6 separate regions of the Homo sapiens genome follow, and all the other regions are linked to region 1. Evidence: promoter capture Hi-C in 16 types of primary human blood cells and fetal thymus (Javierre and others, 2016). All regions are on one chromosome and are shown on one strand. The core of a region is centred on a gene start or on the middle of the fragment in contact, and the rest is flanking DNA. Distances in the headings are between cores, read along the strand shown.

Region 1 (4,673 bases), core at 549-3,048:
GGCTATTAATCAAGATGTTAATCAAACAAAAGGCTTAGAAAATGCAAAGATTTAATTTTTTCTCTCATAGTCAAGCAATTACCTTTTCTATCAGGTTTAGTGCATCTTTTAACCAGCCGAATGGAGTCCTTTACAAACTGCCGACTTGGCTCAACAAACTGCATTACCTGATCCATGACTGCCTGTTTAAAACAAAAAAGATACTCACTGGTATTGGTTCTCATACAATAAGCACTTGCTCATTTATATAAAGATGTAAATGAGACCAGCCACTGAATTCACGTCTAACATGGGTCAATTCCACCTCCTAAAATAAAACAAAAAACAAACTCCAAAGCCTAAATTGATATTATTTTTGGAAATTTCAGTTAATTATCAAAGGCAATAAGAAAAGCACAGATCTTACTCATGATATCTTCACTGACAAAGAACAGCACACGCAATATAAAAAGCCTATCTCTATTAAAAGGTTAAAAAAGGTTACGCAATTGGTAACACATCCATTCCTTTTCTCACTCTGCAGTCCCATCCATTTCTCATTCTACAGTCCCCTCACCGCTCCTAAGGAACCATCAGTGTTGAGATCCAACAATTACTTTCCATATTTTATTTTAAACTACGCAGAAGCCAGTGTCTTGTACAGTGAATGCCAACTACGGTGCTGCAAGAGCCTAGAATAGAGGCAAACGTGAATTTCAACCTTGATTTTTCTAAAACGTGCCAATACAACATACTTTTCTAAAGTATAAAGAATGGCTAAAGGAAGACGCAAATTCTGAGAAGCTACTAGCTAAATTTCAAACTTTTCGATTTGAACACATCTTTTAAGGAAACAGGGCTATATATTTTACCATACAGGTTCTTTTGAGGAATCTATTACCCAATAGAAATGTTATCCGATCTTAGCTTTGAGAGCCACTGCTATAGTAAGTAAAGCAGCCAGGGTGTTATTTGTATTTTCCTCCATTTCCAGTACTCAGAACAGTGGCCAGGTGGTAGTTCAAATCACTGGCTATGGAATGTAAACCTCTGTAAGCCCCAGTTGCCTTCCTTAGTGTAGGGTGTGGACAACGAAATGAAATAATGTCAATGAAACACCAGGAATTCTGCAACGTTCTGGGGGCAAAAACACAGTAATGTCTGTTTTCTCAGTATTTCACTCAACTTTGCTCTTGAAATCCAAAGGGCTTAAACTTTTTGTAATCATAGTTGTCACGAAGGAAGCTAAGAATTCTTTATCCAGAAAAACGCACGCTACACACAATACCGCACTCAATGTCAGGGGTAGAGATCCAAAAACCAACTATGATCTCTCGAACTAGACTCTAGACCAATGCTCTCACTTTAAACCACGGAAGCGGCGGCAGGACCAGAGCTGAGTACAGCTCTTCCCAGACAGGACTCCACAACAGCACACAGAGCCAACCCCGAAGGGATCGGGCAGCAGGACATCATCTTTGGCTGCAGCACAGAAGACGCCGGGGCAGGACGCTAAGCCCTGGAGCCCCGCGGGCCGGCCACCCAGCTCGCCGGGAGTCCGCGGCCCTGGGTCTGCCTTCCGCCAGAGGCCGAGTTGGTGGGATGTCGGCGGCCAGACCCCGGCCCTGAGCCAGGGGACCACTTACCGCCCGCCCCGCGACGGCCGCCCGGGGAGACACGCCGGCTCGCCCACGCCCGCTGCCCCCAAGAGTCGCAAAGGTGTGGCCGCCCCGTTCGCCCGTACCGACCGGTGGGAAGAAACTCACCTACCCAACCGACACCTAAAATGCCAGGGACACGTAGCACTGGAGCTTGCTGATGGAGGCCCACCGGAACCGGAATCCGGGTTTCTGCCAACAGCCCGCCCACTCCTCCGTCCTATTGGTTCCTTACGCGAAACCTCAGTGCGCAAGCGCAGCGCGACGTGCGCCCGGCCACGCTTCCTGGAAGAGATGCATTGCGGAGCTCGCTAGTTGGGGCGTTGGCCTTCCTTAGGAGTGTGAGTCTAGCGTTATCCCTTTTTTCCGGCTGGATCCCGGGTTACCCCACCAGCCCGACCTCAACCCACTCACGTCCACAGCACGAGCCCCAGCGGCCTTGCGCGGTGCTTGCTCTCTAGTAGCGGCTGACTAGGTAAATCCTAAGTTGTGGTTTTTTTTCCTGCGGTCCAGCTTGATGTGTGTCCTTACGGTACATACTTTTTGTATGTATATAATGTTGGTCGAAATGAAGCTTATGAGCAATATAATGTTATGGCCTAATTCAAAATAGTATCCCCACCCCAAACTTTGACTTTGGCTGTCATTCACGGTAATGAATGCCGCTGTAATTGAGGCCTTTGTCAAACGCTAGGTTTGGTTACGGGAGTGGTCATAATGTACACACAGCTCCCCACTTACCCACAAGGATGCATTCCAGGAACCCCCCGCCGGATGGCTGAAACCGTCAGTAGAGACGGGGTTTCACCATATTGGCCAGGCTGGTCTTGAACTCCTGACCTCGCGATCCACCCGCCTCGGCCTCCCAAAGTGCTGGGATTACAGACGTGAGCCACCGCGCCCGGCCATGTTTCCTTTTAGCAATGGAGCATAACGGGATCTGAGGAACAATATAACTCAGGAAGAGCTGATGGAACATTAAGACGTGTTACAACTCTCAGTGCTTCTTAAACTTCTTCAGTAACTGAAATCTCCTGTTAAGTTTTTTAGTAAATGAAATTTGTAACCCCAGAACCTCCAGATATTGATTCAGTGGGTCAGGGTTAGAGGTCACACACCTCCGTATATCTGACTGTAGGTGGTCCATACACACTACACATACCTTGCCTTAGCTTTAAGAGTCACTTTTAAATTCTGAACAGACTGAGATGCGTTTGACTAGTTCTTCATCCCTGGGACTTCAGCCCATGTGTCATCTCCTTAGAGGCCTATAGTGACCATCTAAGGCAATCCTGTCTATCTCATGCTCTTTTTTCCTTTTTCACAATACCTTCTTCATTTGCTGCATAGCATTTGTATTAACATTTATTTATTTATTCCTCGGTCTGTCTCCCTACACTGTAAATCCCCTTACTAGACCATAAGCTCCAAGTGGGTATAATATAGCATCTAGTAAAGTGCTAAACACAGTAAATGCTCAATAAATAATTTTCAAAAAAATAATTCATTCCAAAAAAACATAAAATCACATGTTGGCAAGTTCACCCCAACCACCAAATGTCTGAGTTGACAGTATTTTCAGCAAAACACAGAAAATCAAGTAACACATACAGTGGTTCCCCTTATCCAAGAAAATCTGGTTCAAAAAGAGATGTGTACCAGAAGGTAATCTGGGAGAGGCCACATTCAAATAACTTTCATTACAGTGTATTGTTATAATTGTCTACTCACCTGATTTCGGGAGTTTGAGACCAGCCAGACCAACGTGGAGAAACCCCGTCTCCACTAAAAATACAAAAATTAGTCTGGAATGGTGTCGCATGCCTGTAACCCTAGCTACTCAGGAGGCTGAGGCAAGAGAATCCCTTGAACCCGGGAGGTGGAGGTTGCAGTGAGCTGAGGTCACACGACTGCACTCCAGCCTGGGCAACAGAGCAAGACTCCGTCTGTAAAAAAAAAAAAAAAAAAAAACAGGCTGATAACAGCAAATCTGTGCAAAAATACGTAACAATCAGAACTCTAGAACTCTAATTCCTGGTTACTAGGAGTGTAAAATGGCATAACCCTTTTGGGAAAAGTTTAGTAGTTTATCATAATATGAAGCATATATACACCACCTATGGCTCCACAATTCCAATTCCAGGTACTTATTGAAGATATATGAAACTAAATTCACAGAAAGACTTGTACAGGAATGTTCGTAGTAACTTTATTGATAACAGAACTAAAAGCAACAGGGTACCATCAATAGAATGAATAAACATACAGGTATAGTCCCACAACAGAATAGTACTCCATAGCTAAGGAAAGAAAACTCTCTGCCACAACATTGATGAATGACAAACATGGTGAGTGAAACAAGCCTACGCTAAAGAAGGCACAGTGTGCAGTTCCATTTGCAAGAAATTTTAGACAAAGCAAAAATAATGAATGGTGGAAAAAATCAGAACAGTGTTTGCCCGGGGCTACATATTGAGAAGGCGGGTGAGGGAACTGGGGAGTGAATGTAATGCTCTGTAATTTAACAGGTCTTAGGGTTTCACAGGGGTCTTAGTCAACGTGGGCAGCTATAACAGAGTATCATAGAGTGGTGGCTTACACAACAAACATTTATTTCTCACAGTTCTGGAGACTGGAAGTCAGAGATAATGGTCAGGTTCTTGTGAAGGCTTTTACTGGTTTATAGATAGCTACTTTCTCATTGCATTCTCACATTGCGGGAGATGGAGGAAGAGAGAAAGAAAGGACCAGCTCTCCTCCTGGTCGTAAGAACACTAATCCCAACATGGGGCTTCAGCCTCCTGACCTAATTACCTCCCAGAAGCCCCTCATCCAAATGCCATCACATTTGGGCTTCCACATATGAATTTGGAGGCGCACAAACATTCCATCCATAGCAGCAGGTCTGTGCCTTTTTCCTCAAAAAAAAAAAAAAAAAAAAAAAACCTCAACAAGTATTGAGCTCTAGTTAATTATACAATTGTCGATGCATTTAGGAGGGAAATGTACAGGTATCTACAACTTATTTTGATTTTA
Region 2 (4,673 bases), core at 1-2,500, 1.2 Mb after region 1:
CCAACATGGTGAAACCCTGTCTACTAAAAATCCAAAAAAAAAAAAAAAAAATTAGCTGGGTGTGGTGGCGAGCACCTGTAGTCCCAGCTACTCAGGAGATGGAGGCTGCAGTGAGCCAAAATGGCACTACTGCACTCCAGCCTGGGCGACAGAGTGAGACTCCATCTCAGAATATATATATAATTTTGAAACATTGGGATAGTTTCCTAAAATAATCTGAAGCATACATCTATATCTAATTCAACAAAAGATTTATAGCATTTTTTTTCTTTGAAACTTAACATATTTCTGTACCTTAATTTTTGTTTCTTTTCTTTTTTTTTTTTTTTGAGACGGAGTCTTGCTCTGTTGCCCAGGCTGGAGTGCAGTGGTGCGAACTCGGCTCACTGCAAGCTCCGCCTCCCAGGTTCACGCCATTCTCCTGCCTCAGCCTCCTGAGTAGCTGGGACTACAGGCACCAGCCATCACACCCGGCTAATTTTTTGTGTGTTTTTTAGTAGAGACGGGGTTTCACTGTGTTAGCCAGGATGGCCTCGATCTCCTGACCTCATGATCCGCCTGCCTCGGCCTCCCGAAGTGCTGGGATTACAGGCATGAGCCACCGTGCCTAGCCTGTTTTTTGTTTTTAGGGGGAGATGTGTGTGTTTATTTCTTTGAAGTAATTATGTTAACTCTTACTTTTCTTTGGCAGCTTGCTATTTCTGTTTCCTAAGCTGGCATTTCATAACTATTTACCCACAAAGGGGGAGGCCACATGGTGCTGAGAAAAAGCTCTGGGTTTGAGTTACTTGACAGCTCTCACCTTGAAAAGAGAACTTGTACCTTTTTGCCTTTTTTTTTAACTTCAACTTATATCTTTTCTTTTTTCTTTTTCTTTTTTTTTTTTTTGAGACGGAGTCTTGCTCTGTTGCCCAGGCTGGAGTGCAGTGGCGCAGTCTCGGCTCACTCCAATCTCTGCCTCCTGGGTTCAAGCGATTAGCCTGCCTCAGCCTCCCAAGTAGTTGGGATTACAGGCGTGCACCGCCACACCTGGCTAATATGTTTTGTATTTTTAGTAGAGACAGAGTTTCGCCATGTTGGCCAGGCTGATCTCGAACTTCTGACTTCAAGTGATCTGCCTGCCTCAGCATCCCAAAGTGCTGGGATTACAGGTGTGAGCCACCGCGCTCGGCCCCAGTTTTTCTCTTTTTTCGGTTATGAAATTTCCTGCTGTGCATGAAATAATTTCTAAGATCCCTTCTGTCTCCAACAAATAGTTCTGTGATCTTTATTTCTAATGAACCTTTCCTCCTTAGATCATCAAAGGCTAAATAATGGAAGTTAGAATTTCTTTTCATTTGAAAACTAAGAAATACATATTTGGTTGTATGCTACTATTATATACAATTTTTGTTCTTTTGTTTTTGGACTATTGTTGTTAATCATGTAGCTACTCACGGAATAGGATTACTCACTAGTTCAATTTTTGCCCATTACTGATCAAGACTCGCTCGCCGTGGAATCCACAGGGACATACTGGGGTTATTCAGTTATTTAAAAAATTATTTGACCAGGCGCGGTGGCTCACACCTGTAATCCCAGCACATTGGAAGGCCAAGATGGGCAGATCACCTGAGGTCAGAAGTTCGAGACCAGCCTGACCAACATGGAGAAACCCTGTCTGTACTAAAAATAACAAAAATTAGCCAAGTGTGGTGGTGCATGCCTGTAATCCCAGCTACTCGGAAGGCTGAGGCAAGAGAATTACTTGAACCCATGAGGCAGAGGTTGTGGCAAGCCAAGATCGCACCATTGTACTCCACCGTGGGCAACAAGAGTGAAACTCTGTCTCAAAAAAAAAAAAAAAAAATATATATATATATATAATTTATAAAGCCAGTTTAGCATTCAATTTATATTTTGGCACATAGGTAACTAAGATGGTGACCACCTCGTCTGTACAGGCTTCTGATTGTTACCAGGCTAAGGCAAGTATGTTTTGTTTGCCTACCATAACTAAATTACAAAAATTCAGAATGAAATGAATAATCTGGAATATTTATCACTATCAATGAAAGCCAGGTTTTTTTCTTCTGAATAGAGTTAGAATGCACATTGAAGTGATTTGCTTAATTTCAATAATCAGATTTATAATTTCTGTGAAGATATTGATCACTTAATTCTCAATGTAAAGATTAAAGATGTCATCTTATTTGTGGATAATCCATGGGGGCAATAGCAAGAAGTCCCTTTTTCACCATAAAGGAACCCAAGCGCTTGGGTAAGGTTCCCATCATGGCACTGAGCCCATGGTGGATTAGAGCAGAGGTGTAGAGTGATTTTAAGGAGACTGGATTGCTTGAGCCCAGGAGTTCGAGACCAGCCCAAGCAACATAGCAAGGCCCCATCTCAACAACAACAAAAACATAATAAAAAATAAAAAATTGGCTGTGCTTAGTGGTGCAAGCCTGTAGTTCCAGCTACTCAGGAGGCCGGGGCAGGAGGCTCCCTCGAGCCCAAGAGTTCCAGACTGCAGTCAGCTAAGATCATGCCACTGTACTCCGGCCTGGGTGACAGAGTGAGTCTCTGTCTTAAAAAAGGAGATTGGCTTAGTCACTCACAGGAAATCACTCTTGGATTTTTTTCCCCCTTTTGAGATGTTATCATTCAGTATATATGAAGTTTGCCTCCAGGAAGAGAATGCTCAGCCAAGCCAACTCAAGCATCTTGTGCCTTGAGAGTGACATCTTTCACTGTCATTGTTAGTAGGTTGCTATCCTTGTTTATATGCTGCCAGCTCTTTTGAATGAATTAGAGTGAATCTGTCTTCCCAAGTCTTGTCACCTGTGGGACCCTGATATGACTGAGACTTCAGGCCAGAGCCTGGGCAGTGTGGTATGGATTTACTGGGTAATGCATGGTGTGTCATCTCCTGATAGACCTTAACCATGTGTCTTCTGGTGACCTCCCTATGTCATTTGAAGCCCCTTCCTTTTCACCTTTGATTCTAGAAGACTGCTTTTGAAAAAATGGGCACATTTTAAAACATTTTTAGGAATTCAGATGCATCACTAAATATTTTTTTTTTAAGTGGTGCAAGTATGAAAGGAAAGGGCTCTGAGCCAGGCGCAGTGGCTCACACCTGTAATCCAAGCACTTAGGGAGGCTGGGGTGGACAGATCACTTGAGGTCAGGAGTTCAAGACCAGCCTGGCCAATGTGGTGAAATCCCATCTCTACTAAAAATACAAAAATTAGCCAGGCGTGGTGGTGCACACCTGTAATCCCAGCTACACAGGAAGCTGAGGCAGGAGAATAGCTTAAACCTGGGAGGCAGAGGTTGCAGTGAGCCGAGATCCCGCCACTGCACTCCTGAGTGGCAGAGTAAGACTCCGTCTAAAAAAAAAAAAGGGCTGTAGGCTGGCCTGGTGGCTCATGCCTGTAATCCCAGCAGTTTGGGAGGCCGAAGCGGGGCAGATCGAGACCAGCCTGGCCAACATGGCGAAACCTCATGCCTACCAAAAATACAAAAAATTAGCCAGACGTGGTGGTGGGCGCCTGTAATCCCAGCTACTCGGGAGGTTGAGGCAGGAAAATCGCTTGAACCCAGAAGGTGGAGGTTGCAGTGAGCCAAGATCGTACCATTGCATTCCAGCCTGGGCAACAGCGAGACTCCATCTAAAAAAAAAAAAAAAAAAGCCGAGCGTGATGTCATGTGCCCATAACCCCAACTACTCAGGAGGCTGAGACACGAGAATAACTTGAACCCAGGAGATGGAGATTGCAGTAAGCTGAGATCACGCCGCTGCACTCCAGCCTGGGAGACAGAGGAAGACTGTTTCAAAAAAAATTAAAGAGCTGATACCTTTTGCAGTGGGAAATTCTTAAAGTTTTAAGCCAAGTGCCTATTTTTAACTGATCATAGTGTGATGTCCACAGAGGCACAATGTATATTAGTACTTTCTTCCATATTTGGTACATAATGAATGCCTTTGGTACTCATTTTCTGAATGGTTTGCTCTAGTAGGAAAGAAAAAAAAAAAAAGCAAGAGGCAGCTTTGCCTGCACTACTGAGGCTGTACCACCAGAAAGCTTCATTCCCATGGTTCCTCTGTATGGCATCCAAGAAGTTGCAGAGTCCCTTGTGTAGTTCAGAGAGCAGGGGTGTTTCTCAGGATTTCAGAGTCATCAGCTGCTTTGAAGGTGTGCTTCCTTCACCTGTGTTTTAACGCCCTGCCCCAGGGGTGGTCCCTGTCTCCCTTGGGTACAGTGCCCTGTGGCACCTTGGGTGCTCTAGTTCCAGGTTTGCCTCGCTTCCCCTCTGAGGGTGTTCTGGAGAAGCAGTGCTTTTTAAATTGACGGGTCCCATCCTCTGCCAGTTCTAGACTTTATTTCAAGAATCACCAGTGCAACTATATATACATCTTCAGGTTGCTGTTTTTATTTTTAATAATTATTAAATACATTTTCTCAAAAAAATTAGTATAGCTACAGAAAAGTATGCTTACATTTCATATACATTAAAATGACTTTTAGACCAGGTGTGGTGGCTCACGCCTATAATCCCAGCACTTTGGGAGGCTGAGGCGGGCGGATTACTTGAGGTCAGGAGTTTGAGACAAGCCTGGCCAACATAGGGAAATCTTGTCTCTACTAAAAATACAAAAATTAGCCGAGCATGGTGGCGGGTGCCTG
Region 3 (4,673 bases), core at 1,476-3,975, 1.2 Mb after region 1:
TATGGTGGTGCACGCCTGTAGTCTCAGCAGCTTGGGAGGCTGAGGCAGAAGAATTGCTTGAACCCGGTAGGTGGAGGTTGCAGTGAGCCAAGATCACGCCACTGTACTCCAGCCTGGGCAACAGAGTGAGACTGTCTCAAAAAAAAAAAAAAGTAAAATTTAAAAATAAAGGCGATGCTGTAGTGCAGCCAGTCACATTAACTTGAAATAAACATAAAAGAGGAATATTTCACGAACGTCAGTTATTTGTATGCTTTCTTTACAGTTTTTACCATATCTAGTATTTACTTAATATTCTTTATAAAGGGATGCAAGATTTTTAGCCTTCTCCTAGGAAATACTATTTAGCATATAAAATAAGTTATATGCTAGTTTTATATGCTAATTAAATTTATTCTACTCTTCATCAAAATAGATACATAACCTTGAAATTAAAAATATTCGTTGATGTCCCCCCAAAAATCTTGTGTGCCGTTGTTTGAGAAACAGTGTGATAGTTTGTGGCAATATCCTGTGATGATTCTTTTTGCAATCTTGACATTATTTTCATCAAATGAATCCTAGGATCACTTTGAGAAGAGCCTTGAAGAAGACTTGAGGGTCCTATTGATGAACTTTGAAATATTGATTCAGAGAAGTCTGCTTTTCTATTTTGTTTTAGCTTTAAATTTCCCTGTGGCAAGTCTAGATTTTTTTTCAGTTAAAATTATTTCTGCTGTATTTGTAGAACAGAAGTTTTGGGATTTTGTAAAATAATGACCAGAGACTAAGAATTCCCATGCCACCCCGTATCACTGTGGAAGATGGAGAAGTGAGGAACTGTACCTGCGGGTGAGCCCTGGTGCCATGTTGAGGGTGGGAATCAGGAGAGCTGCAGTGGCTTATATAAACACCTGACGAAGTAGTCTAATTGGCTTAATCATTTATTTTATTTATTGAAATATATATCTGGGCTGGGCACGGTGGCTCACATCTGTAATCCCAGCACTTTGGGAGGGCAAGGCAGGTGGATCACTTGAGGTTAGGAGTTCAAGACCAGCCTGGCCAATATGGTAAAACTGCGTCTCTACTAAAAATACAAAAATTAGCTGGGCATGATGGTGTGCACCTGTAACCCCAGCTACTCAGGAGGCTGAGGCAGAAGAATTGCTTGAACCTGGGAGGCGGAGGTTGCAGTGAGCCGAGACTGCACCACTGCACTCCAGCCTGGGCAATAGAGCGAGACTCCATCTCAAAAAAAAAAAAAAAAAAAGAGAGAAAGAAAAAAGAAATATATATCTGTAACACTTTTTTCCAAAAAGAATTCATATTAGTTTGTTTGCATTGCTATAAAGGAATACCTGAAACTGGGTAGTTTATAAAGAAAAGAAGCTTTATTTGGCTCACAGTTCTGCAGGCTGTGCAGGAAATACGGTGCTGGTGTCTGCTTCTGTTGATGGCCTCAGAACGCTTCCAATTATGGCGGAAGGTCAATGGGAGCCAGCATATTACATGACAATAGAGGGGTCAAGAGAGATGGGGGAGGTTGCAACCTCTTAAACACTCAGCTCTCACATGAACTACCAGAGTGAGAACTTGAAGGGGTGGCCTTCCCCTCCACACCCGTGAGTATTTCTAGTCAGGTGAGATGAGAGACTGAGAAAGGAAAGAAGACACAGAGACAAAGTATAGAGAAACAACAGTGGGTCCAGGGGACCGGCGCTCAGCATACCAAGGATCTGCACCGGCACTAGTCTCTGAGTTCCCTCAGTTTTTATTGATTATTATCTTCATTATTGCAGCAAAAAGGAATGTAGGAGGGCATGGTGATAATAAGGAGAAAAACATGTGAGCAATAGAATCTATGTCATAATTAAGTTCAAGGGAAGGTACTATGACTGGACGTGCACGTAAGCCAGATTTGTTTCTCTCCACCGAAACATCACAGTGGTGTAAAGAATAACAAGGCAGCATTGCTGCAAACATGTCTCGCCTCCCACCATCGGGCGGTTTTTCTCCTATCTCAGAATTGAACAAATGTACAATCCGGTTTTATACCGAGACATTCAGTTCCCAGGGGCAGGCAGGAGACAGTGGCCTTCCTCTATCTCAGCTGCAAGAGGCTCCCTCTTTTACTAATTCACCTCAGCACAGACCCTTTACGGGTGTCGGGCTGGGGGACGGTCAGGTCTTTCTCATCCCACGAGGCCGTATTTCAGACTATCACATGGGGAGAAACCTTGGACAATACCCCGCTTTCAAGGGCAGAGGTCCCTGTGGCTTTCTGCAGTGCATTGTACCCCTGGTTTATTGAGACTAGAGAATGGCAATGACTTTTACCAAGTATACTGCTTGTAAACATTTTGTTAACAAAGCACGTCCTGCACAGCACTAGATCCCTTAAACCTTGATTTCATACAACACGTTTTTGTGAGCTCCAGATTGGATCAAAGTGGTTGGGTCAAAGTGGCTGGGGCAAAGCTACAAATTAACAACATCTCAGCAAAGCAATTATTCAAAGTACAGGTCTTTTTCAAAATGGAGTCTCTTATGTCTTCCCTTTCTACATAGACACAGTAACAGTCTGATCTCTCTTTCTTTTCCCTACAAGAACTCATTCAATAACACAGGAGGACACCAAGCCATTCATGAGGGATCCACCCCCATGGCCCAAACACCTCCCACCAGGCCCCACCTCCAACATTGGGGATCACATTTCAACCTGAGATTGGAAGAGACAAATATCCAAAGTATAATATATCAGAATTTAAGGTGATTTCATTTGATTTTTATGATTGCTGCCTTGTTTGACAGAAGTCACATTTGATGTTTTTTTCTGTTTTTTGTTTGTTTTTTTGAGACAGAGTCTCGCTCTGTCACCCAGGCTGAGGTGCAGTGGCTTGATCTTGGCTTACTGCAACCTCCGCCTCCCAGGTTCAAGCAATTCTCCTGTCTCAGTCTCCCGAGTATCTGGGATTACAGGTGCGCGCCACCACGCCTGGCTAATTTTTGTATTTATAATAGAGACAGTGTTTCACTCTATTGGTCAGGCTGGTCTCGAACACCTAACCTCAGGTGATCCACCCGCCTCAGCCTCCCAAAGAGTTGAGATTACAGGTGTGAGCCACCGTGCCCGGCCCCACATTTGATGTTTTAAAGCATTCAAAATGTAAACGGTCATAAACCAGGAATAGCTGCAAGCATAGGGACACTTCAGTTTCTTGGTTTTCAGGTTTCCTCTGTCTTCTCAGGCATGGCTGAAGAAAACATAAGGTTAAGGTAGGAGTGCAGCCCACTTGCTTTCTCATCTTTCTTCTAACTTGAGCCTGGCTCAAGACTTCCCTGATTTATTCTCCCCGAGAAAGGACTAGATTTTGTAGGCCCTGAGTCAAAGCTGAAATGATTTAAGGACTTTAAAAAACAAAAACAATAAAACCCCCCCAAAAAAACTCATTTCATTGTAGAAATTAAACTTTTCAAAAGCATTTTTGTCCCATGCAACAGTAGGTATGAAATAGTTAATAAAACCTTGAGTTACTGTAATCAGGGAGGATTTCTAATAGTATTTTGTCCAAACGTGTGCAGTGGCGATGCATTTTCAGGGCAAATCAATTCTGGAAGCATCCTCACCCAAAAAAAGCCACATTTAACATTCATTTGCCATAATGAGGCAGGATATAGGGCACTCAGATTTCAGGAGGGGAGAGAGTGAGCGAAGGTGACGTCTCAGCAGAGGTATGTACTTTTTTGTTTGTTTGTTTTTTGAGACGGAGTCTCGCACTGTTGCCTGAGCTGGAATGCAATGGCACTATCTTGGCTCATTGCAATCTCCGCCTCCTGGGTTCAAGCTATTCCCCTGCCTCAGCCTCCTGATTAGCTGGGATTACAGGCGCCTGTCACCACGCCCGGCTAATTTTTTGTATTTTTAGTAGAGGGGGGGGTTTCACTATGTTGGCCAGGCTGGTCTCAAACTCCTGACCTCGTGATCTGCCTGCCCTCGGCTTCCCAAAGTGCTGGGATTATAGGCGTGAGCCACCGCACCCAGCCAAGTATGTACTTTTTAAAAGTAATGGTTAATTACACTTGGTAAAATCTTTGATCAAAGCTTAATTTTGTGGCTGGGCGCAGTGGCTCATGCCTGTAATCCCAGCACTTTGGGAGGCTGAGGCGGGCAGATCATGAGGTGAGGAGTTCGAGACCAGCCTTGCCAATATGGTGAAACTCCGTCTCTACTAAAAATACAAAAATTAGCCGGGCATGGTGGTGCGCACCTGTAGTCCCAGCTACTCGGGAGGCTGAGGCAGAAGAACTGCTTGAACCCAGGAGGCAGAGGTTGCAGTGAGCCGAGATTGTGCCACTGCACTCCAGCTTGGGTGACAGAGTGAGACTCCGTCTCAAAAAAAAAAAAAAAAAAAAAAAAGCTTACTTTTGCAACCAGGAAAAAAAAAGTATTTTGCAAAGAGTTCTAAAGGCTCCAGCACAAGGCAGTGTATCTGTATCACAGCACAGGTGAAAAACAAGAACAAGATGGAATTCTCAGAAGAGGATGAGCAGAACTTGGACATCCCAGAAAAAAGGTGTCTGGACTGAACCCGACCACAGTTGGCCAAGGACTTTCACCAATTCTTCATACATAGGAATGGTACATTAGAATCCTATTATATATTCCTTAGGGTCACAGATGATTCTGTTTA
Region 4 (4,673 bases), core at 704-3,203, 1.2 Mb after region 1:
CACAGCGTGGGGGGCTTGTTAAAATCCACATCACACAACTAATATTCAGAAATGCATAATGTTGGATGCTGCTGTGAATGCAAAAGACAACAAATACAACAGGTGCTGGGAGAAGGGAGAAGTCTGATTGAGACTGTAGGGATGAGGGAAGACTTCATGAAAAAGGCAGAGTTTGAATTTGTGTTGATACCAGCAGGTAGGGTTTGGAGATTAGAGAAAACGGGGGACCATTGCAGACAGGAAATAAAACTTGAGCAAGAGCAGGGACAATAAGGAGACTGTCAGCTAGAGCTGAGCTTTTATTTGGTGTATATTAGTGCTTTGGGATCTTTGGGTTTCAAGGGATAGATTCATTTGGTTTATTTTATTTTATTTTATTTTTTTTGAGACAGAGACTTACTGTGTCACCCAGGCTGGAGTGCAGTGGCACAATCTCGGCTCACTACAACCTCCGCCTCCCGGGTTCAAGTGATTCTCCTGCCTCAGCCTCCCAAGTAGCTGGGACTACAGGCATGCGCCACCACGCCCAGCTAATTTTTGTATTTTTAGTAGAGACGGGGTTTCACCATGTTGGCCAGGCTAGTCCGCCCCCATCAGCCTCCCAAAGTATTGGGATTATAGGCGTGAGCCGCCGCACCTGGCCCATTTGGTTTATTCTTAATTAACTGTAAGACTCCCCAAAGACAGGAATAGAAAGACATCTAGAAATAAGTGGCATGTCTGCTTTTCCACATTCTAGCCCAAGGAGTTAGTTTTAATTTTCTGGAACCATTTATTATGTTTAGAAGGAAGATGATTCATTCACTCAATAAATATTTTTTGAGTAGCTAGTATGTGACAAGTTTTTTTTCTTTTCCTTTTTTCTTCTTATGGTCTACTGGTCATTTCATATGTGACAAAAATTATGCTTTTTATCAGCTAGACATCACTGAGAAAAATAGACATGACCCCAAACCCAAGGAGCTTATTGAAAGACATTTAGCAACTATACTAATAAATTGCAAAAGAGATGTGTTTTAAACAAAATGAAAACAGGGTGCTATGAATACACATTAGGGAATCAGGGAGAAACTGTGGGGAAGTGAAATTTAAGATGAGAAAGAAAAGATAAGTAGAACCTACGAAAAGTAAGTGGAAAAGAGCATTTTGGACATGTGCTAAAAATCATCTGCAAAAATCACGGGTATATTTGAGAAATTAAAAGAAGACCACTGTGGTTGGTGTGGAAGGAGGGAGAGAATGACTTGAAGTGAGCTTGGAGAAGTGAGCAGGTCTTAAATACACAAAGCCTGTGGCCATGAAAACAGGTCTGACTTTTACTCTGAGTGCAGTGGAAAGCCTTTGGGGGAATTTAAGCAGAAAGATAACATAATAAGTAATCCAATTCTACATTAAAAATCATCCTGGTGCTATATACTAACTGAATTTGTGAGAGGCAGAGGTTGAAAGGAGAAAAACCAGTTAAGCTACTGTAGCATTCTCAGTGATAGAAAATAGCATAAAACTAGTCATTGGAGGAAAGGAGGGAGATTTGAGTGCTTTCCTTTGGAAACAGCAGAGATTAGCTAAGGGGTAAAAGCAAAGGAAGAAAAAAGATGACTTCAAAGAGTGGAACCCAGGAAATGGCACTATTGGTAATGGTAAATCAGATCATGTCATTCCTCTGCTCAAAGCGCATGGCTCCCATTTCACTCAGAGTAAAACCCAAAGTCCTTAAGATGGCCTAAACAGTCCTATAGAATCTGGCCTGTTACCTGTCGAATTTCATCATTTACTTTTCTTCCCCTTATTCCATTCTAGCCATCCTGGCCTCATTCTTCTTCCTTAAACATGGCCCTGGGGCCTTTGCACTGTTAACCTGTCAAGCTTCTTTCTCAAATGTCACCTCTCCAGTGCCATCTTTCCTGACCACGCTATTTAAATTTGTAACTGCCCCACACCCATATTCTTGAACCCTTACACTACTTTACTTTTATCTTCTGACATACTATATAATTTACCCAGTTATGCTGTTTGTTGTCTACTTTCTTTCCTAGAATATAAGCTTCATAAAGGCAGGGAGTTTTTGTCTCTTTTATTCACTGGTACATCCCAAGCACCATGCCTGGCATATATATAGGAAGCACTGAATAACCATTCATTAAACACATGGGGAATTTAGCATATGATAAAGGTAACATCTCAAACCAGTGATAAAAAGCTGCTTTGTTCAATAATTGATGTTGGGATTTCTGGGAAACCATCTGGAAAAAGATAAAGTTGGATCTGTACCTCATACTTCACATCAGAATAGTCTTCAAATGGATCAAATATTTAAATATGAAAAATGAAACCACAAAAAGTTATGCAAGAAAAAAATGGGAGAATTCCTTTATAACTTTCACCAAAGAAAAACTTTCTAATCACAGTGATTGATGGGTTCAACTCATTAAAAACACCAAAAGCGGCCGGGCGCAGTGGCTCACACCTGTAATCCCAGCACTTTGGGAGGCCTAGGTGGGCAGATCACAAGGTCAGGAGATTGAGACCATCCTGGCTAACACGGTGAAACCCCGTCTCTACTAAAAATATAAAAAATTAGCCAGGCATAGTGGTGGGCGCCTGTAGTCCCAGCTTCTTGGGAGGCTGAGGCAGGAGAATGGCGTGAACCCGGGAGGCGGAGCTTGCAGTGAGCCGAGATTGCGCCACTGCACTCCAGCCTGGGCGACAGAGCAAGACTCTGCCTCAAAACAAACAAACAAACAAACAAAAAACACCAAAAGCATCTGCATGGAAAAAAAAAAACAACAAACTATAAGCAAAGTAAAAAGACATGTCAAGTTGAAAAAAATATTTTGCCACTCGAATTACAGTGGTCTCATCTTTCTAATATATAAAATACTTCTCTAAATCAGCAAGAGATTAGGAGTCCAACAGAAAAAGGTACAAAAGGCCAGGGACAGTGGCTCATGCCTGTAATCCCAGCACTTTGGGAGGCTGAGGCAGGCTGATCACTTGAGGTCAGGAGTTTGAGACAAGTGTGACCAACTTGGTGCAACTTCATCTCTACCAAAAATACAAAAATTAGCTGGGGGACTAGTGGTGGTGTGCACCTGTAGTCCCAGCTATACAGTAGGCTGAGGTCAGAGGATCACTTGAGCCCAGAAGGTGAAGATTGCAGTAAGCCATGTTTGCACCACTGCACTCCAGCCTGGGTGACAGAGTGAGACCCTGTCTCAAAAAAAAAAAAAGAAAAAAAATTTTAAAGACAGTTCACAGCAAATAAAGTTCAAATGGATCTTAAACACAGGAAAAGTGTTCATCTGTACTGCAAACAAGAGGAAATTTGTGTTAAAACTAGAGAAAGCTGGATATTTTATCACCAAGCTTGATATTTGCCATGAGTTTGATATTTTCCACAAGTATAACATATTCTGTTGGCAAAGCTGTGGGGAAACAGACACTCTTACACTGCTGGTGTGAATGTGACAGATTGCATTTTCAGAAAAATGGCCAAAATACCTCCCATCCCAAATGCTTTCTTGCAAGTGACTTTGACACTCATCCCATTATAGATGTGGAGATCTGTGTGCTCTCCATTGGATCTCGGCAAGGCTGTGACTGGAGGATGCAAAGCTTTGTGACTTTCAAGGCAGATCATAAATGGCAGTAAGACTTCTACCTCATTCTGTTGGGATGCTTACTCTAAACCCGACCACCTTGTCAGGAGGAAACCCAGACAGCCCATGGAGAAGCCCATATGGAGAGGAGCCAAGGCCCACAGCCCTAGCCGAGCTCCCAGCTGAAAGCCAGTACCAATTTGCCAGCCTTGTGAGTAAGCCATCTTGAAAGTGAATCCTCCAATCCCCAGTCAAACCTTCCCACCTAGTCCTGCCCAAATTGCAGATTTATGAGCAAAGTAAATGATACTTGCTATTTTAATCCCCCAAGTTTTGGGATGGTTTGTTATGCAGCAAGATAATTGTTAGGGATTTTAGTACCTGAAAGTGGAGTGTTGCAAAAACAGAAACCTAAACCACAGGGCACTGACTTTGGAACTGAGCACTGGGGATAAGATAGAAAACGAGTGAAATAATAAAGGGCCTCAAGGCGAGTTAATGGAAAACTAAAGGGCCTTTGTCAAAACTCAAAGGATAGTAAGGAGAATGTTATTAGAAGCTGGAGGATAGAGGACCCTCGAAGAAGAAATGTTGGATAACATTGTTACCTTCAGTAACAAGGAAAATAGAGGCCAGGCATGGTGGCTAATGCCTGTAATCCCAGCACTTTGGGAGGCCAAGGCCTCACTCGAGGTCAGGAGTTTGAGACTAGCCTGGCCAACACGGTGAAACCTCGTCTCTACTAAAAATACAAAAATTAGCCAGGGCATGGTGGTTTGCGCCCGTAATCCCAGGTACTCAAGAGGCTGAGACAGGAGAATCGCCTGAACCCGGGAGGCGGAGGTTGCAGTGAGCCCAGATTGCACCACTGCACTCCAGCCTGGGTGACAGAGAGAAATTCTGCCTCAAAAGAAAGAAAAAAAAAAAGGAAAATAGAGAATATATTTAATGAACTCAACGATCTACTAAAGAGATTCTCAAGTAGAAAATTGAAAGTGCCAACTGGCAGTTTCTGGCTGCCTAAAGTAAAATGTGAGGGAAAAAGATAAACTAACTGAAGAACTGTTAAATATA
Region 5 (4,673 bases), core at 722-3,221, 1.1 Mb after region 1:
TCCACCTCCCAAAGCGTTAGGATTACAAGCATACAAGCATGAGCCACTGCGTCCATCTGTCCTGTAGGTAGCCTTAAAGTATCTTCCCCCAGGATATTTATTAGCAACAAAAGGAAAGATAGTAACTTTTACCATAGAGCAACCTGGTAGACACCACCTTGACCAAGTGATAATGGTAAATATTACCGTCAATGAAACATATTGCCATTAATGAGACATATTACCATTAATGAGACATATTGACATCGTGAACATATTGACGTCATAAACATAGTAGACATATTGACATTGTATAGAGTAGATCTTCATGTCCAGTTCCTGCCGCAGAGCTCCTAAAACCCTCGTCATTTTCTGAGTGATAGGGATGATAGAAGCGTCTTTTGCTATTCATAACCAATGAGATGACTGGTGACTCCAAGTTCCTACATAGCTTCAGGATGGAGGCTAGTGGCTAAAGGAACCTACCATGTAATTAGAGGGTTGAACTTTAAACCCCAACCCCAAACCCCACCCCACCTCTGAGGAGAAGAGAGGGGTTGAAGATAGAGTTAATCACCAATGGACAATCAACTCAAAATGGATTAAGGACTTAAACAGAAGACCTGAAGCTATAAAACTCAGAAAGGAAAATGTTCCATGACGTTTGTCTAGACAAAAATTTCTTGGATATGACCACAAATGCAAAAGTAAACAAATAGGGTTGCGTCAATCTAAAAAGCTTTTACACGGCAAAGGAAACAATCAATAAATGAAGAGAAAAACCAAGGATTGGGAGAAAATGTTTGCAAACGATACATCTGATATGGGACTGTATTAGTCTGTTCTCACTGCTACTGAAGAACTACCTGAGACTGAGTAATTTATGAAGAAAAGAGGTTTAATTGACTCACGATTCCTGTACAGGCTGTACAGGAAGCATGACTGGGAGGCCTCAGGAAACTTACAAGCATGGCAGAAGGCCAAGGGGAAGCAAGGACCTTCTTCATATGGCAGGAGGAGAGAGTGCAAAGTGCCACATGCTTTTAAGCCATCAGATCTCGTGAGAATTCACTCATTATCGTGAGAACAGCAAGAGGGAAATCCACCCTGTGATCCAATCACCTTCCAATTCAACATGAAATTTCAGTAGGGACACAAATCCAAACCATATCAAGGACTAATATCCAAAATATATAAGGAACTCAGTAGCGAGAAAACAAGTAACCCAATTTTAAGATGGACAAATGTCCTGAATAGACATTCTCATTCACAAAAAATTAAATTCAAAATTTCCCATTTACCTCTAAAAAAAAAGACAACATACAAATGGCCATCAGAGATAATGAAAAAATGCTTATCACTGATCTTGATGGATATGCAGATTAAAACCACAATAAGAGAGCACTCACCCCTGTTAGAATGGCTTATTATCAAAAAGACAAAAGATAACAAGTATTGGTGAGAGTGTGGAGAAAAGGGAACGCTTATGCACTGTTTGTGGGAATGTAAATTAATACAGCCATCACAGCAAACTACAGGAGTTCCTCAAAAAACAAAAAATCGGCCAGGCACGGTGGTTCATGCCTGTAATCCCAGCACTTTGGGAGGCCGAGGCGGGCAGATCACAGGGTCAGGAGATGGAGACCATCCTGGCTAATACGGTGAAACCCCGTCTCTACTAAAACTACAAAAAATTAGCTGGGCATGGTGGCGGGCACCTGTAGTCCCAGCTACTTGGGAGGCTGAGGCAGGAGAATGGCGTGAACCCGGGAGGTGGAGCTTGCAGTGAGCCGAGATCGTGCCACTGTACTCCATCCAGCCTAGGTGACAGAGCGAGATTCCATCTCAAAAAAAAAAAAAAAAAAAAAAATCAAGCCAGGCACGGTGGTTTATGCCTGTAATCCCAGCACTTTGGGAGGCCGAGGGGGGGGGGGGGGTTGATCACAAGGTCAGGAGTTCAAGACCAGCCTGGCCAAGATGGCGAGACCCCATCTCTACTAAAAATACAAAAAAATTTGCCGGGTGTGGTGGCAGGCACCTGTAATCCCAGCTACTCAGGAGGCTGAGATGGAGAAATGCTTGAACCCAGGAGGCAGAGGTTGCAGTGAGCTGAGATGGCACCACTGCACTCCAGCCTGGGCAACAGAGCGAGACTCCATCTCAAAAAAATAAAAAATAAAAAAATCGAACTACCATATGATCCAGCAGTCCCACTTCTGAGTATATATTCTTTTTTTGTTTGTTTGTTTTGAGACAGAGTCTCATTCCATCAGCCAGGCTGGAGTGCAGTGGCACGATCTCAGCTCACTGCAACCTCTGTCTCCCAGGTTCAAGTGATTCTTGTGCCTCAGCCTCTTGAGCAGCTGGAATTGCAGACATGCCCCACACCACACCCGGCCAATTTTTGTATGTATAATAGAGACAGGGCTTCACCATGTTGGCCAGGCTGGTCTTGATCTCCTGATCTCAGATGATCCACCCACCTCAGCCTCCCAAAGTGCAGGGATTACAGGTGTGAGCCACCACACCAGGACCTGAGTATATATTCAAAGGAATTGAAATGGGTATGCCAAAGCGATATCTGTACTCCTATGTTTATTGCAACATTATTCACTGTAGTCAAGATATGGAAGTGACCTAGATGTCCATTGGATGAATGGATTTTAAAAATGTGGTGGCCGGGCGTGGTGGCTCACCCCTGTAATCGCAGCACTTTCTGGGAGGCCGAGGCAGGCGGATCACGAGGTCAGGAGTTTGAGATCAGCCTGACCAACATGGTGAAACCCTGTCTCTACTAAAAATACAAAAATTAGCCAGGCATGGCGGCACGTGTCTGTAATCCCATTTACTCAGAGGGCTGAGGCAGGAGAAGTGCTCGAACCCGGGAGGTGGAAGTTGCAGTGAGCCGAGATTGCACCACTGCACTCCAGCCTGGGCAACAGAGCGAGACTCCATTTCAAAAAAAAAAAATGTGGTATATATACACAATGGAATACTATTCAGCCTTCAAAAAGAGGGAAATTATATTATTCGTGACAACATAGATGAACCTGGAGGACATTGTATTAAGTGAAATAAGCCAAGCACAGAAAAACAGAAACTCTATGATCTCACTTAAAACGTGGACTCTAAAAATGTTGAACTTGTAGAGAGTAGAATGGTTGTTACTAGAATCTGGGGCTGTGTGGGAGGGGGCTAAAGAGATGTTGACCAAAGGGTACAAAGTTTTAGTGAGACAGGAGGGGTAAGCTTTAGTGATCTATTACACAGAATGATGACTAAAATAATAAAATAACAATGCATTGTTTTCTTTCTGTCTCTCTGTCTCTTTCTTTTTTTCTTTTAGAGATGGGGTTTCAACATGTTGCCCAGGCTGGTCTCGAACTCCTGACCTCAAGTGATCCACCCACCTTGGCCTCCCAAAGTGCTGGGATTACAGGCATGAGCCACTGCGTCTTGCTGATAATGCATTGTATATTTCAAAATTACTAAAAGAGTAGATTTTAAATGTTTTCACCACAAATAATTTAAAAGTATGTGAGGTGACAGATATGATAATTGGCTATTCCACAATGTGTATTAGTCTGTTTTCACGCTGCTGATAAAGACATACCCAAGACTGGGCAATTTACAAAAGAAAGAGGTTTAATGGATTTACAGTTCTGAGTGGCTGGGGAGGACTCACAATCATGGTGGAAGGCAAGGAGGAGCAAGTCACATCTTACATGGATGGCAGCAGGCAGTGAGAGAGAGAGAGAGAGCTTATGCAGAGAAACTCTAGCTTATAAAGCCATCAGTTCTCATGAGACTTATTCACTATCATGAGAACAGCATGGAAGAGACCTGCCCCCATGATTCAGTTACCTCCCACTGGGTCCCTCCCACAACATGTGGGAATTCAAGATGAGATATGGGGTGGAGACACAGCCAAACCACATCAACTATGTAAATATATATTAATGCATCACATTGTACTCTATAAATATATATAATTATTTGTCAATTAGAAATTTAAACAAATTTTTAAGTTACCAGTGTCTAGTAGTTTAATCAATCTTGACTGTATAATGCAACCTCCATAGAAACACTAAAAAAAGGAGTCTGGAGAACTTCCAGATTGGTGAACACATACAGGTGCTGGAGGTTGCCATGCCCAGAGAGGGCATGGAAGCTCTGCACCCACCAACCCTCCACCCCTTGCCCAATTTACCTCTTACATTTGGCTGTTCCTGAGTTAAGTGAACACAAAGGATTTAACCTTCATTAAACAGATCACGTGTATGATTTCACTGCAGCCATAGTGCAGCTTATTAACTCTACAGAGCAAACCTTTGTATCACTTACTAACATGACATGTAGTTTGCTGTATCAACTTATATGACAGTTACACATGTCAATATGACTGAGCACAGTGGCTCACGCCTGTAATCCCAACACTTTGGGAGGCCAAGGCAGGCAGATCACCTGAGGTAAGGAGTTCGAGACCGGCCAGTCAACATGGCAAAACCTCGTCTCTACTAAAAATACAAAAATTAGCCAGGCTTGGTGACGTGTGCCTATAATCCCAGCTGCTCAGGAGGCTGAGGCAGGAAAATCACTCAAACCTGGGAGGCAGAGGTTGCAGTGAGCTGAGGTTGCGCCACTGCACTCCAGCCTGGGTGACAGAGTGAGACTCCATCTCCAAAAAATAAAAA
Region 6 (4,673 bases), core at 1,256-3,755, 1.1 Mb after region 1:
TTTGCCATTAAGATGAGAAGGCTGACTTGAAAGGGGCCTGAAGAAACTTTCTGGATTTAAATGCTGGTAAAAGCTCATTAAATGTTGATTTTAAAAATAATGTCACACAAAGATAAAGCAAAAGTTGCCTAACAAATTACTTCTCAGAAACCCAACAGTGCTTTTTGTAATCGGTTTCTTTTTTTTCTTTTTTTTTTGAGATGGAGTTTCACTCTTTTTGCCCAGGCTGGAGTGCAGTGGCACAATCTCTGCTCACTGCAACCTCCACCTCCTGGGTTCAAGCAATTCTCCTGCCTTAACCTCTCAGGTTTTTCTTTCACATTTTCAAATGAAGATGGAGAGACCACTGAAAAACAGACTAGAAATACATCTGTCTGTGGATAACTCAGTGGTAGTAATCTGTCATAATCCTCCTGCCCTGCAGTATCAAAAAGCCCAAGAGTATATGGTTCTCCACCAATCATAACTGTGACTGCATAATTGTCAAAAACAGTCGGAACATATTCCGATGGAAATTTGTTTGTTGTGTAGGATATCTGGAGACATGTTTTACCAACAGCACCATCGCCCACAACAACACACTAATTGTCTGCATTGCTGAAATAGTTTTGTATCCACTTTAAATATTTCAAATCTGATGTTGACCTCAGCTTCTCCACGAGGGCGTTGGCAGCACTCCCTAATTTTAAAGCTTTCTACAAAGCTACAGTAATCAAAACTATGTGGCAGTGGCATATCAAAGGACAATATCAAGAAGGTGAAAAGGCAACTTACAGAATGGGTGAAAATATTTTCAAATTGTATATGCAATAAAGGTATGATATCCAAAATGTATAAATAACTCCTACAACTCAACAGCAAAAAGGAAAAATAACTAAAATGGATGAAGGACTTGAACAGACATTTTTCCAAAGAAAATATACAAACGGGAAATAAGATGCAAAGATATTCAATATTATTAGGAAACTCAAGTCAAAACCACAACTTTGTACTTACTAGGATGGCTACTGAAAAACCAAAAACAGAATATAAGTTGTGGCAAGGTGGTGAAACTGGAACACATACATTGCTGGCGGGGGTTGCGGCTGCTCTGAAAAACAGTGTGGCCATTCCTCAAAAGGCAAACAGGCCGGTTGCAGTGGTTCAAACCTGTCATCCCAGCATTTTGGGAAGCCGAGGTGAAAAAGTTAATTTTATTAAAGATTGTCCCCATTTTAAATAACACACAAAGTTTCAAAGTAAGAAACTAAACTCGTTATGGTTCATCTAGATATTAGTTTTTATAAAAATCATTTTAATTTTTCTATTACAGTCCTGCAGCAGAACAGTTCTTCCCTGAATACGAGAACCCAGAAAGGTACATTTTTATTTTCAACGTTCTGATATTAGTACAATTTGGACCCAAAAGTAATATGGTTATTCTGAACTTTTCACAACATAAATAACAAAATCATTGTAGAGAACATGTGTTTATTTTTCATGTGTGTAATCTTGCTTGCTGGGACCCAAACTGATCTCAAGAGATGATCCCTCTACTATTGAGAAACTTTCCAAGAACAAACAGAAGCCTATCACTCCAGAGACTGCTGAAAAGCTGGCCCATGACCTGAAGATTGTCAAGTATGTGGAGTGTTCTGCACTCACACAGAAAGGCCTAAAGAATGTATTTGACGAAGCAACATTGGCTGCGCTGGAGCCTCCAGAATCGAAGAAGAGCCACAGGTGTGTGCTGCTATGAACATCTCTCCAGAGCCCTTTCTGCATAGCTGGTGTCAGCATCACACTAAAAGCAATGTTTAAATCAAACTGAAGATTAAAAATTAAAATTCATTTTTGCAATAATGACAAATGCCCTGCACCTACGCAAATGCACTCATGTGAGACAGGCCCATAGGTATGGCCCCCCTTCCCCCTCCCAGGACTAGTTAATTTTGAGTAATAGTGTATTGTCAGAAAAGTGATTAGTACTAGTTTTTGTTTTGTTTCAAAAAATTTTTTTGTTATTGTTTAAAAGCAAGGCATGGGCCGGGCGCAGTGGCTCACACCTGTAATCCCAGCAGTTTGGGAAGCTGAGGCGGGCAGATCATGAAGTCAGGAGGTTGAGACCATTCTGGCTAACACGGTGAAACCCCGTCTCTGCTAAAAATACAAAAAATTAGCTGGGCTTGGTGGCGGGCACCTATAGTCCCGCTACTCGGGAGACTGAGGCAGGAGAATCACTTGAACCCTGGAGGTGGAGGTTGCAGTGAGCCGAGATTGCACCATTGCACTCCAGCCTAGGTGACAGAGCAAGACTGTTTCAAATTTAAAAAAACAGCAAGGCATGCTTGTGGATGACTCTGTAACAAACTAATTGCAATTGTTGAAGCCGCTCCCTGGTTCCACTCTGGAGAGTAATCTGGCACATCTTAGTGTTGTTGGTTTTTTTCTCCTCTTTTGGGGGGAGTGTGTGTGGGGTTTGTTTCTCAGTCTTGTTTTTTTAATTCATTAACCAGTGGTTAGCCCTTAAGCGGAGGAGGATGGATTGATTCCACATTCCACTTCCTAGATCTAGTTGAGAAAACATGTTCCCCATCTGGCGCTCCTAGGAAGGAGTATAGTAAATGCCTCATTTAATAACATACTCCTTTTTGAAAGTTGCCTTTTCTCTCCACCCTAGAGTAGATCCAGTATTTGATGAAACTCATGAAAGTGGGTGGAGCCTGTCTTGCCCCTCCTCTTTTCTAGGACGCACTGTATGTGACTGACTTTCAAGGACATTTGTTTGCCACTTGCTGATTTTTTGGGGAAGTTAATTTCTAACTTCTTTCACTAATAAATGAAGAAAAGTATTGCACCTTTGAAATACACCGAATGAATTGAGTTTGTAATTAAAAATTTTTTTCCTGTCAGTCATTGTCTTATATGCTTAGCATAGATTTGCAACTCAGTAGTATATGGTGTTCCTAGAACGCAGCTGAAGAACTGGTATGTAGAGGAAATATGAGGGGTGGGTGGTGCTAGAAGACAGACATCTGTGGAATGATTCACATCCTCTCAGGTTAGGAGGATGGAGGCCTGCTTCATTAAGAAGCTGGGCGTAGGGTGGGGGTGGGGAGAACACTTAACAACATGGGGGCCAGTCAGGGGAATCCTCTTATTTCTGTTTTGCATATGAGGAACCCTAGAGCAGCCAGATGAGGCTCTCTAGTTTAATAAAAATCATGGAAAGCCTCTTTTTTTTTTTTGACACGGAGTCTTGCACTGTCGCCCAGGCTGGAGTGCAGTGGCACGATCTCAGCTCACTGCAACCTCTGCCGACTGGGTTCACACTATTCTCCTGCCTCAACCTCCCGAGTAGCTGGGACTACAGGTGCCCACCACCACGCCCGGCTAATTTTTTGTGTTTTTAGTAGAGATGGGGTTTCACCGTGTTAACCAGGATGGTCTCGATCTCCTGACCTCGTGATCCGCCTGCCTCGGCCTCCCAAAGTGCTGGGATTACAGGTGTGAGCCACTGCGCCTGGCTTTTTTTTTTGAGACAGAGTTTCACTCTTGTTGCCCAGGCTGGAGTGCAGTGGCGCGATGTCACCTCACCGCAACCTCTGCCTCCCGGGTTCAAGCAATCCTCCTGCCTCAGCCTCCCGAGTAGCTGGGACTACAGGTGCCCACCACCACGCCCGCCTAATTTTTTGTGTTTTTAGTAGAGATGGGGTTTCACCGTGTTAACCAGGATGGTCTCGATCTCCTGACCTTGTGATCCGCCTGCCTCGGCCTCCCAAAGTGCTGGGATTACAGGTGTGAGCCACCGCGCCTGGCTTTTTTTTTTGAGACAGAGTTTCACTGTTGTTGCCCAGGCTGGAGTGCAGTGGCGCGATGTCACCTCACCGCAACCTCTGCCTCCTGGGTTCAAGCAATCCTCCTGCCTCAGCCTCCCGAGTAGCTGGGATTACAGGCATGCACCACCACGCCCGACTAATTTTGTATTTTTACTAGAGACGGGGTTTCTCCACGTTGGTCAGGATGGTCTCAAACTCCTGACCTCAGGTGATCCACCCACCTCGGCCTCCCAGAAGTGCTGGGATTACAGGCATGAGCCACCGCGCCCAGCCGGAAAGAGTCTTATGAAGACTCTCCATAAGTGTTAATAGGGATTTTAGCAGCTTATTTTGGTTGCAGTTTCTAATTTTTAAAAATGTTGAAGTAATCTTTTCCACCTTCCCAATCCTAATTCTTGTAGATTCATTATTGTTGAACCAATGCTTTCTCATGTCTCAATTCTTTGTGTATGCATTATTTTCAGATGTATTAAACAAACAAAAACCCTTCAAAAAAAAAAGCAAGCTTTGAAATGGGAAGTGTGATTCCTCTGACTTTGTAATTCTTTACAAGCTTTTGGCTATTTGGAGCCCTTTATAATTATTCCATATGGATGTAGGCATTGTCTTATTTATTCCTGCCTAAAAGGCTGTTGGGATATTGATTGGAATTATGTTGAATCTATAGATCACTTTGAGTAATCTTGACATGTTAACAATACTGAGTCTTCCTACCCATGACATGATGTCTTTGTTTATTTAGTCCTTCTTTAATTTATTTTAGCCACGTTGTGTTCTTTTTAGTGTATAAGCCATTCACCTCAGATTTATCCTATGTATTTTATTTTGTTTATTTTTATTTATTTATTTATTTAT

Evidence for each region. The method cuts DNA at HindIII sites, captures the fragments that hold promoters and counts their contacts. A CHiCAGO score of 5 or more calls a contact.
Region 2: a contact is called between a fragment that was not itself captured here and the fragment with the promoter of SEC61G in region 1, in 1 of 17 cell types (naive CD8 T cells). The highest score is 6.7, in naive CD8 T cells.
Region 3: a fragment that was not itself captured here is called in contact with the fragment with the promoter of SEC61G in region 1 in 4 of 17 cell types (naive CD8 T cells, total CD4 T cells, activated CD4 T cells and 1 more); the score reaches 8.5 in naive CD8 T cells.
Region 4: a contact is called between a fragment that was not itself captured here and the fragment with the promoter of SEC61G in region 1, in 3 of 17 cell types (naive CD8 T cells, total B cells and activated CD4 T cells). The highest score is 6.3, in naive CD8 T cells.
Region 5: a contact is called between a fragment that was not itself captured here and the fragment with the promoter of SEC61G in region 1, in 4 of 17 cell types (total CD8 T cells, total B cells, total CD4 T cells and 1 more). The highest score is 7.2, in total CD8 T cells.
Region 6: a contact is called between a fragment that was not itself captured here and the fragment with the promoter of SEC61G in region 1, in 10 of 17 cell types (total CD4 T cells, total B cells, naive CD8 T cells and 7 more). The highest score is 10.3, in total CD4 T cells.

Annotation. Positions count from the first base shown.
Region 1 is chr7:54,757,413-54,762,085 of GRCh38, forward strand. SEC61G (SEC61 translocon subunit gamma) reads right to left here and starts at 1,799. Exons shown (of 4, transcript NM_014302.4): 1 at 1,746-1,799; 2 at 83-182. The coding sequence starts at 176. It overlaps SEC61G-DT (SEC61G divergent transcript), which reads left to right and starts at 1,901. Exons shown (of 3, transcript NR_110040.1): 1 at 1,901-2,112. RefSeq lists a silencer at 1,449-1,768 and an enhancer at 2,002-2,937. The HindIII fragment of the contact is 2,422 bases long and covers 1-2,209 here.
Region 2 is chr7:55,989,918-55,994,590 of GRCh38, forward strand. All of the region lies in intron 7 of NIPSNAP2 (nipsnap homolog 2), which reads left to right. Among named protein-coding and RNA genes, the nearest start is that of NIPSNAP2, 28 kb to the left of the region's middle. RefSeq lists a silencer at 2,606-2,806. The HindIII fragment of the contact is 5,635 bases long and covers 1-4,068 here.
Region 3 is chr7:55,941,316-55,945,988 of GRCh38, forward strand. It overlaps ZNF713 (zinc finger protein 713), which reads left to right. Exons shown (of 7, transcript NM_182633.3): 7 at 1-910. Among named protein-coding and RNA genes, the nearest start is that of MRPS17, 8.2 kb to the right of the region's middle. The HindIII fragment of the contact is 2,713 bases long and covers 1,370-4,082 here.
Region 4 is chr7:55,914,488-55,919,160 of GRCh38, forward strand. All of the region lies in intron 4 of ZNF713 (zinc finger protein 713), which reads left to right. Among named protein-coding and RNA genes, the nearest start is that of ZNF713, 29 kb to the left of the region's middle. The HindIII fragment of the contact is 178 bases long and covers 1,865-2,042 here.
Region 5 is chr7:55,897,531-55,902,203 of GRCh38, forward strand. The region is part of intron 1 of ZNF713 (zinc finger protein 713); the gene reads left to right. Among named protein-coding and RNA genes, the nearest start is that of ZNF713, 12 kb to the left of the region's middle. The HindIII fragment of the contact is 2,510 bases long and covers 717-3,226 here.
Region 6 is chr7:55,876,430-55,881,102 of GRCh38, forward strand. It overlaps the pseudogene LOC101409255. Among named protein-coding and RNA genes, the nearest start is that of ZNF713, 8.7 kb to the right of the region's middle. The HindIII fragment of the contact is 3,632 bases long and covers 690-4,321 here.